2 separate regions of the Homo sapiens genome follow, and region 1 is linked to region 2. Evidence: promoter capture Hi-C in human tissues and cell types (Jung and others, 2019). All regions are on one chromosome and are shown on one strand. Each heading gives the region's core, a stretch centred on a gene start or on the middle of the fragment in contact. The rest is flanking DNA. Distances are from core to core; before and after follow the strand shown.

Region 1 (5,078 bases), core at 719-3,218, 250 kb after region 2:
GACAAAAATCACGAAGATTGCACCTGAAAGACTGAAAACATTAAAAACTCTTAAACTGTTTGTTTCTTTAATTAATAATGCTTATAATATTTTAAACCAATAATTCTTAACTGAATTTCCTTGCTTCCCTCTAGTATGACTTAAATGACATTCTGTGAATGTTATTCTAAGGACTTATTTATCCTTTATGTTCTTTGAACCATTGCTTGAATGCATACATTTAATACATTTGAATGTATTCAAATATTATTCAAATATGTATTCAAATATTATTCTGCATATAAATCTATTTGAAAGGCTTTTATGTAGAATATAGTGCAGATTTCTTTACTTTTGCTTTAAGGTAATGATTAGGACCTACAAGTAAAACTGTAAGAAGTCAGAATGAGCTCCCAATAATTAAAGCTTTCTAGCAATGAAATAATAGACATCTTTCAGGGAACTAGTGAGTTCCCTGCCTTGGGAAATTCAAAACACAGAGTGGATGATTCTCTGTCATGGATGTTGAAGAAGAGAGTCTTATAAAGATTGGACTGGAGGAATTTTAACCTACTTGCTAACACTTAAGCTCTGAGTCTAACCTATATACTTTCCTAATTGGACCCCAAAGCAGTTTTTTTCCTTAAGTTTTGTTTTGCTGTTATTTGTATTTTGGTACTTGAAAATTTTTACTCAAATTTAGTATTCCAGTAAGCACCAACTGACAATTCTAAACATTAGTTACATATTCCAACTAGGCACTAGCTAACTAACACTCCTAATGCTTTAACATAATGTCCCTTATATCTTCTTCATCTGTATATAACTGTCATAATAATACAAGTTAAATAATAATAAATAAATAATGACAAGTAATAACTAAACCCAATAATCACTGAAAATTTCTGTGACTTTCCTTTTCCATCCCATCTTCCTTTTCCGTGTATGTGAAATGAAAGCCACTTCCATCCCTACTATCTGTAGTATAAGAAGGAATGATGTGACTTGAGGGATCTACCTGTACTTCCATTTTCCATTTTCTGCCTGTACTTCTGACCATACTTCAGAATCATCTTTAAAAAACCTTTTTTAAAGATGATTCTGAATTTTTTAAATATTTTTTAAAGAAGATTCTGAATTTCTGAAAAAAATTCTGTTGTTTCAAAGTAGTTCTAAGTTTTGGTTAATGTATTCCAAATAGAGAATTGATAGATTTTAGGTCTTTAAGGTAAATAATACCTTTAACTTACAACTTTGAGAATGTGGAGTTTTGGAGCAGTATATTGTTTTACCTGTTGTGAACTGACGTAGCAGTTTATCATGCTTGAACCTGCCATTGGTTAAGGTTCTTTAAGCTTCTGTTTCTTGCCAGGCAGACCTCGGCAGGATCTCACTAAAGGCAGGAGAAAAAAAGCTGTGTGTATATTGCAGAGTTATAGTTTTGGTCCATAGTTTCATAACAGTAGACATTCCTACATGAAATTATTTTAGATGGAATGTATATATTCCATAATTCTATAATCAAAATTTCTTAGAATAAATTTTTTTCCATCTAAAACTTGCAGTATGAAACCAAAGCTTTTCAATAATCTTTTGTTTTCTTTTTAAACATTTTTTATTTTTAATTATGGGTAAATAATAGTTGTACATATTTATGGGGTATGTGTGATATTTTTATACAAGCATACAATGTGTGATGATCAAATCAGGGTAATTGGGCTATCCATTAACTCAGGCATTTATCATTTATTTATGTTAGGAACATTCCAATTCCACTTTTTTAGTTATTTTGAAATATGTGATAGATTATTGTTAACTATAGTTGCCCTGTTGTGCCACCAAACACTAGATCCTGTTCCTTCCATCTAACTGTATTTTTGTACCCATTAACCATCTGAATTTTCAAATATAGTAAAGTCTTCATTAGCTGTGACAACTGATTGCTGGGCAATAGTAGGGAGAAAGAGATCATAGTAATCCTTAGGTATAGTTGAAACATAAATTTAATTTGAAACATCATTAGTCAAATATATCATGCTGAATGGACTGCATCTAAATTTATTTCTTAGACTCAATATTTAGGAATTTATTTTTCTAAATATATCACCCAAAAGGATAAACATATCAACGGTATTGTAACTTAGTAGCATTATTTTTGTTTACATTATATGTAAAACATAGTCCAAAGATGGCTATTTGTTAAAATACCCTGTTATTGTCAAATTCTTAGCTGAAGTCTTAAAAAAAAAAAAAAAAAAAAAAGAATGGGACTCCAGTAGGAAAGAAGGGATCCTAGCTACAAACTTACTTCTCCTCTCTTCCCTTTCTTGCCTAAATCCTCCACCTTTTAAGTCCTGGCCCTTTCCCATCAGAATTCAGAGACAAGGCATCTCCTTAACCTGCCCTACTCTTGCTCCACTTACTCCTTCTTGGTTGGGAGTTTAGCAGCATGGTAGGAGCCAGCTTTTTTGTCCGCCAGAATGCTCAACAGCAAGGTGTGTTCCCCCATTTCAGTGGACACAGTTTGGCCTTTATTTATAAAATAGTACCAAAAAAAAAGCTGTGTGTGTATTGTGTGTGTAATGACAGATGCACTTAATTATCTATTTTTTGAGTAACAGCAGTTTTTAACTAAAATCTTGATTTTATCAAATTAATACATGTACACAGTCTAATGAATAAAATGGTACTGTTAGGCTCATGAAAAACAGCAGTTTCATGCCCCATTGCTCTCTACTATCAGTTTCTACTCCTTTGATGCATCTACTTTCAAATCTTATTGCTGGTTCTTCTGATATTTGATTTCATATTTCTAAATAACAGGCATAGTATGCCATTTTTTTCAGTTTCTACCTTTAAATATCTATTGGCTTCTACTTATATATCTCTATTATATGCTTCTCCCACACCACAGACACTCCTTCCCTCTTCCCATCCTTTCCATAGAGTTATATTTTTGGGTTCAGCATACTTTATTTTTTCTACAGTTTAATTTTTGTTAACCCATCTTTTTTTATAGCACATTTTATTGTGTTCTTTGTTATTTATTGTCTGTCTTATGTAACAAGAAACTTTGTTTTGTTTATTGCTGTCTTGTCAGTGCCTAGAAAGGTACATAAGAGCTGCTAAATAAAGATTTATGGAATTGGGCTGGATGTGGTGGCTTATACCTGTAATCCCAGCACTTTGGGAGGCTCTGGTGGGAGGATTGCTGGAGGCCGAGGTGGGGGAGGATTGCTTTTGGTGGCGCATGTTTGTAGTCCCAGCTACTTGGGAGGCTGAGGTATAAGGATTGCTTATGCTGAGTAGTTCGAGGCTGCAGTGAGCTATGATCATGCCACTGTACTTCAGTGTGGGCGACCAAGTGAGACGCTGTCTAAAAACCAAAACAAAACAGAAAATACTTGCAGAATCAACAGATGAGAATAGTTAATAATTGCCTCATTTTAAACTGTATTAGTTCATGTGATTAACCAATCACTTATTAAATTATTTGTAAACACTAACAGAACCGAAAGTCTCTCATGTTCCTACACCTCAGAGACGCTATCATTTTAAATTTCTTCTAAGAGATGTTCCTCCTGGACTCTTCTGTCTACTTTTTCCAGTCTGGAAAAGTTTTTTTTTTAAATTTATTTTTATCTTTATTTTTTGGCCTTAAGTTCTAGGATACATGTATACAACGTGCAGGTTTGTTACATAGGTATACATGTGCCACGTTGGTTTGCTGCATCCATCAACTCGCTTACATTAGGTCTTCACATTAGGTCTTTCTCCTAATGCTATCCCTCCCCCAGCCCCCCACCCCCTGCCAGGCCCCAGTGTGTGATGTTCCCTGCCCTGTGTACATGTGTTGTCATTGTTCAATTCCCACCTATGAGTGACAACATGCAGTGTTTGGTTTTCTGTCCTTGTGATAGTTTGCTCAGAATGATGGTTTCCAGCTTCATCCATGTCGCTGCAAAGGACGTGAGCTCATCCTTTTTTATGGCTGTATAGTATTCCATAGTGTATATGTGCCACATTTTCTTAACCCAGTCTATCATTGATGGACATTTGAGTTGGTTCCAAGTCTTTGTGAATAGTGCCGCAATAAACATACATGTGCATGTGTCTTTATAGCAGCATGATTTATAATCCTTTGGGTATATACCCAGTAATGGGATCGCTGCGTCAAGTGGTATTTCTAGTTCTAGATCCTTGAGGAATTGCCACACTGTCTTCCACAATGGTTGAACTAATTTACACTCCCAACAGTGTCAAAGCATTCCTATTTCTCCACATCCTCTCCAGCACCTGTTGTTTCCTGACTTTTTAATGATCGCCATTCTAACTGGTGTGAGATGGTATCTCATTGTGGTTTTGATTTGCATTTCTCTGATGACCAGTGATCATGAGCGTTTTTTCATATGTCTGTTGGCTGCATAAATATCTTCTTTTGAGTAGTGTCTGTTCATATCCTTTGCCCACTTTTTGATGGGGTTGTTTGTTTTTTTCTTGTAAATTTGTTTAAGTTCTTTGTAGATTCTGGATATTAGCCCTTTGTCAGATGGATAAATTGCAAAAATTTTCTCCCATTCTGTAAGTTGCCTGTTTACTCTGATGATACTTTCTTTTGCTGTGCAGAAGCTCTTTAGTTTAATTCAATCCCATTTTGTCCATTTTGACTTTTGTTGCCATTGCTTTTGGTGTTTTAGTCATGAAGTCTTTGCTCATGCCTATGTCCTGAATGGTTTTGCATAGGTTTTCTTCTAGGGTTTTTATGGTTTTAGGTCTTACATTTAAGTCTTTAATCCATCTTGAGTTAATTTTTGTATAAGGTGTAAGGAAGGGATCCAGTTTCAGCTTTCTGCATATGGCTAGCCAATTTCTGAACACCATTTATTAAATAGGGAATCCTTTCCCCGTTTCTTGTTTTTGTCAGGTTTGTTGAAGATCAGATGGTTGTAGATGTGTGGTGTTATTTCTGAGGCCTCTGTTCTGTTCCATTGGTCTATATATCTGTTTTGGTACCAGTACCATGCTGTTTTGGTTATTGTAGCCTTGTAGTATAGTTTAAAGTCAGATAGCGTGATGCCTCCAGCTTGCTTTGTTCTTTT
Region 2 (5,061 bases), core at 978-3,477:
AAGTTCAGATAAGTGTTGGCAAGGATGTGGAGAATCCTGCTGGGGAGGGGAGTAAAATGGGACAGCCACTTTAAAAAAATCTGGCAGTTCCTCAAATAGTTGAAAATAGAGTTCCATAAATACAGAAATCCCTTGGTATCTGCAGGGTGGACTGTTTCGAAGACCCCTGTGGACTCCAAAATTGACAGATGCTCTTCTTGCAGTCAGCCCTGTGGAATCCGCCCATAGGAAAATTCCTCTTATCCTCAGGTTCTGCAACCTGGGAATACTGTAATTTTTGATATGTGGTTGGTTGAATTGGAGGATGCAGAACCCACAGATAGGGAGGGCTGACTGTATACTACTGGGCACATGCCCAAGAGAAATGAAAACGTATTTGCACAAAAATGTGTACATGAATGTTCATAGCAACGCCAAAAGGTAAAAACTTTTTGATAAATAAAATGTGGCATATACATACAATGCAATATTATTCAGCCAAAAAAGGAATGAAGTACTGACACATACTACAAAATGGATGAACGTGTTACAGGTGGCAGGTATCCAAGTTACCAGGGCAAATCTGTATGGGTCTGCAGCAACTTCAGTTCTTGCCTCCTCAGAAGAAAGAATTTGACCGAGGGGCAATAAGGCACAAAAAGAGACTGAGGCAAGTTTCAGAGCAGGAGTGGAAGCTTATTTAAAAGGCCTTTAGGAAAGAAAGGAAAGCACGCTCGGAAGAGTCCCAAGCTGTCACTGAGGTCAACTGTGATATTGACCTCGATCCTAGGACTTTACAGGCTGGCTCCTTTCCCATGATTCTTCCCTTAGGGTGGGCTGCCTCCATGCGCAGTGCCCTCCTTACCCTTGGGAAGTGAGCACAGCGCAATATGTATGAAGTTGTATGCGTGCCCATCTGAGGCTTTCTTCCCTTTTCCGATAGAGTCCCCCTGAAAGGTCATACTCCCCGATTTTGTCTCTTAATGCATATGCCCAGGAAGTTGCTTCTCCCTGTCACCTGCATTCAACGAGCACTTTAGTGCAACAGGTGTGGGCCATCAGGAAATGGCCTCTCCCTGGCACCGGCTGCCAATTTATCACTTTTAGAGGCAATGTGATAAATGCCTAAGCATCACCCCACATTCCTAGTGGGTGAGGGAAGAGCCCTCTCCTGCCCTGCTCATGCCTAACTACCTGTAACAAACCTTGTAAACATTAAGCCAGCCACCAAAAGACCATATAATTCCGTTTATATTAAATGTCCAGATTAGTTAAATCTAGAGAGACAAAGTAGGTTCTTGGTTGGCTAGGGCTGGAGGAGTTGGGAGGATCAGGGGTGATAGCTAAAAAGTACAAGTTTCTTCTTTCGAGTGGTAAAAATGCTCTCAAATAGTGGTGATGGTTGCCCAAGCCTGTGAATATACCAAAAATCACTGAACACTTCAAATGGGTGAATTATATGGCATGTGATTACAGTCTAATAAATAAATAGTATGTCCTGCTGTATCCTTCAGGGCCTCTGAGAAATGGAGAGAGCTCCATCTGAAGCCAGACTGAGTTCCGATCCTGCTTCTATTTTCCCCGCAGGTAAATCCTTCCTCAACAGCAACACGGGGTGATACGCCCTATCCGGAAAGGTTGTTGTAATTTTTAAAAACATTAAAAACATACATTAGGGTTAATCATGTAGCGTGTGATACACAGACGCTCTGAAACACTACTGCACACGCACACCAACATGGGGCCTCTGCGGAGCTTGTGAAAGAACCAGATCTGGAGGGCTGGTCGTGTCCCTGGTCTCGGCCCTCGCCCTCCTTGTTTCTTAGGCTCTAAAGCAATCAGGCAGCAGAGCAGTCCTTGAACCCCAGTCAAGAAAAAGCCCTGCACCCCTTAGTCCGAAAGCCGCAAGGAACGGGGCCTAAGCGCCTGGCGAGGCCGCCCTACCGGGCAGAGACAGTTGCTACGTAACTCGGGGACCAGAAACCCAGCCCCACCCGCTGCGGTTAACCGACAGCCGCAACGGTTCCCGCACCGCCCGGGTCGGAGAACAATGCTGCGCCCTGCACGTAGAGCCTCGCGGTGCCGCGCCCTGGGGCGGGCCTGCCCATGGCCTGCCGGGAAATGTAGTTTCTGATGCCCTGCCCGCGCCGCCTCGCCGCTCGCCGGCCGGGCGCCCCAAGCAACTACAACTTCCATCACGCTCTGCGAGGCCTTGATCTGCAGGCTTTTGCAGGGGAAGGAGTGGGGCGAACATGGCTGAAGGAAGCCGAGGTGGCCCTACGTGTAGCGGGGTGGGTGGCAGGCAGGACCCAGTCTCCGGCAGTGGCGGCTGCAACTTTCCAGAGTATGAGCTTCCCGAGCTAAATACGCGCGCTTTCCATGTGGGCGCCTTTGGGGAGCTGTGGCGGGGCCGTCTGCGCGGGGCCGGGGACTTGTCGCTGAGGGAGCCGCCGGCATCCGCTCTGCCTGGGAGCCAGGCAGCTGACTCCGACCGGGAGGATGCCGCGGTGGCCAGGGATCTGGACTGCAGCCTGGAGGCGGCGGCTGAGCTGAGGGCGGTGTGCGGGTGAGTGCGGAGCAAAGGGGCTCTTGCAGCTTGGGGTCAAACAGGGTGCAGCCTTGCTCGTGCGCTCCTCTGGGACTCATCCCTGAGAAGGGCCTGTGGTTTAGACCTGGGCTAGGAGTATTACCCTTTAAAGCTTTCAACCCGCTGGAGCCTTCCTGGGACACCAGGAGAAGTCCTGGGACCCGAATGCACAGTTTCTACGAGTTGGAGCAAAGGGACAAGACAGCTGCATCAAAGACTAGTTTTTCCATTTGCTTATTCTAAGAGTGCTTGTTAATAAAGAAAAGCAATCAGGGCAACAGCGACGTGTACCTGCCATTGACAGACACTTTGACAATGGAGGAACCTGAGTAATGGTGAAGCTGCGGGAGACTTCATCAGAGGAGTGTTAAAACCCCGACTAACTGGTTTCTTTTGGGGACCTTCCGGGTATTCTGTTACTGAAATATTTCTTAAAAGTGCCTTATTTGGGGATGAAAATATAAAAATAACTTTAATCTCTTTCTCCATTTAACAGTACTGGCTGCCTTCATCGGCCTTTTCATTATAAAATATAATCACAGAAATCGTTGTCTTAAGTTCTGGCCTCTCTGAGCCGCCTGCTGGATTTTATCTGACTTCGTAATTCAGTAATGTATTTAGGAAAACAACCCTAACTCGCTGTGAACCAGATGCAGAGTCGACCTTAAAGTATTGCTTTTCCTTTTTGTTTTAGCCTTGATAAACTGAAATGCCTTGAGGACGGTGAGGATCCAGAAGTCATTCCGGAGAATACTGACCTGGTGACTTTGGGGTATGGAGGACTTGGTTTTTATGACCTATTTATTTAAACATTTTTTCAACATTATGTTTTGAAAAGTTGAAAGTGCAGTATTGATTGTTGTCTGTATACCCACCCCTTAAATTCAGCTGTTCTTAATATTTGACCATATTTACTTTAGCCGTGTGTATGGGATGCCTGCTGTGTGTTTTTTCATTTTGCTATCCCCCATTCAGTAAGTTAGACATGATAATTTACCCGTAAATACATAAGCATATAGCTTCTAAAAGTATCATTCTCCTACATAATTATTGTGGTATTATTATACCTAAGAAAACCGTAAATACATAATCTATAATATTCAGTCCATATTCAAACTTGTGTTTATTTTTTAATATTTTTGAATGTTTGTTTATAGAGGTAATCTACTTAGATCTGGGGGGCAACCTAAATACTCTGACAGTGTTTTTCAAACTATTTGTGGTAAAGGACAGTTCTTGTTTTTAAAAATTTTTAATCTTTGACAGATTTATGCTTTGATAAAATACTATAAAAAGAATTACTAGAAAAATGGAATTAAAAAAGACAAACACAATATAAGTTCAAATTTTTAATTAAATTCAATAGACAAAATTATTCAATGATAATGGAAGTTTCTAAATGCTTACTGTCATTTTCTGTACAGATTGGTTAACAAATAGGTCATAGATGAATTCTGGTCTGCCTACCACTCTTTGAGAGGCACTGTTGTATGATAATATAGAGAAATTGTGCATGTAATAGTGAAATTTATAATTTCCAATTTATAGTCCACTTATTTCATACTACCTCAGCTATGTTCTGTCGTTCTTGATCCTACGCTATTATCCCCCTCAAATATTCAGGCAGTCATTTCAACTCTACTTGGGTTTTCTTTCATAATAACTGCTAAATCTGTTCCCCTGGTCCCTACTGCTGACTTTTACAGCAGCAACACCTGGAGCACTGTGCAAGGTTCTTAAGTGTCTTTGATAAGTACAGTCATTTCTCCCACTGATTTATCCATCATGCTGTCGCCTGAGCAAGCCATTTTGCTTAAAAATGGTCTATGGCCCTACATCTCCTATATGGAAAAATTTCAAACTCCTTAGCTAGACATTTGAAGCCTTCCACATATATCCCAAATTTGCCTTTCCAGATTTATTTTCAACCACTTTCTCTTTCAGATGGCTCAGGATGCATGTGGCCTCTCTCCCATCTGAAACATACCACTTCTATGTTATGTTATGTTACGTTATTTTTTTGAGATGCAGTCTCACTCTGTTGCCCAGGCTGGAGTGCAGTGGCGTGATCTCTGCTCACTGCAACTTCTGCCTCCGGGTTCAAGCGATTCTCCTGCCTCAGCCTCCGGAGTAGCTGGGATTACCGGTGCCTGCACCCTCGGCTGCCTAACTTTTTTGCATTTTTTGTAGAGACGGGTTTCACCATGTTGGCCAGGCTGGTTTCAACTCCTGACCTCATGTGATCTGCCCAACTCGTTCTCCCAAAGTGCTAGGATTACATGCGTGAGCCGCCACACCTTGCCCATACCACTTTTTTAAAAGCCCAAAGATTCCTTTCCAGATTACCACAACCCATCTTTCCCTTAGGAAACAGATGCATTTATACTGCCTTAAACTCTTAACATTTCTAAAGTCCTTGAAGGCTCAATGAGAGTCCAAACTCCCATCTGTGTATTGTTCTCAAGCCTACTATACTGCCTTGCTCCAATTGGTGC

What was found. Contacts are between HindIII fragments. The study calls those that stand out against the background at their distance.
Region 1: a contact is called between a fragment that was not itself captured here and the fragment with the promoter of SNAPC3 in region 2, in 1 of the 25 tissues and cell types used here (lymphoblastoid cells).

Annotation. Positions count from the first base shown.
Region 1 is chr9:15,667,734-15,672,811 of GRCh38, forward strand. All of the region lies in intron 9 of CCDC171 (coiled-coil domain containing 171), which reads left to right. Among named protein-coding and RNA genes, the nearest start is that of CCDC171, 120 kb to the left of the region's middle. The HindIII fragment of the contact is 3,605 bases long and covers 167-3,771 here.
Region 2 is chr9:15,420,649-15,425,709 of GRCh38, forward strand. It overlaps SNAPC3 (small nuclear RNA activating complex polypeptide 3), which reads left to right and starts at 2,228. Exons shown (of 9, transcript NM_001039697.2): 1 at 2,228-2,545; 2 at 3,261-3,338. The coding sequence starts at 2,232. RefSeq lists a silencer at 1,955-2,244 and an enhancer at 2,585-2,704. The HindIII fragment of the contact is 4,082 bases long and covers 22-4,103 here.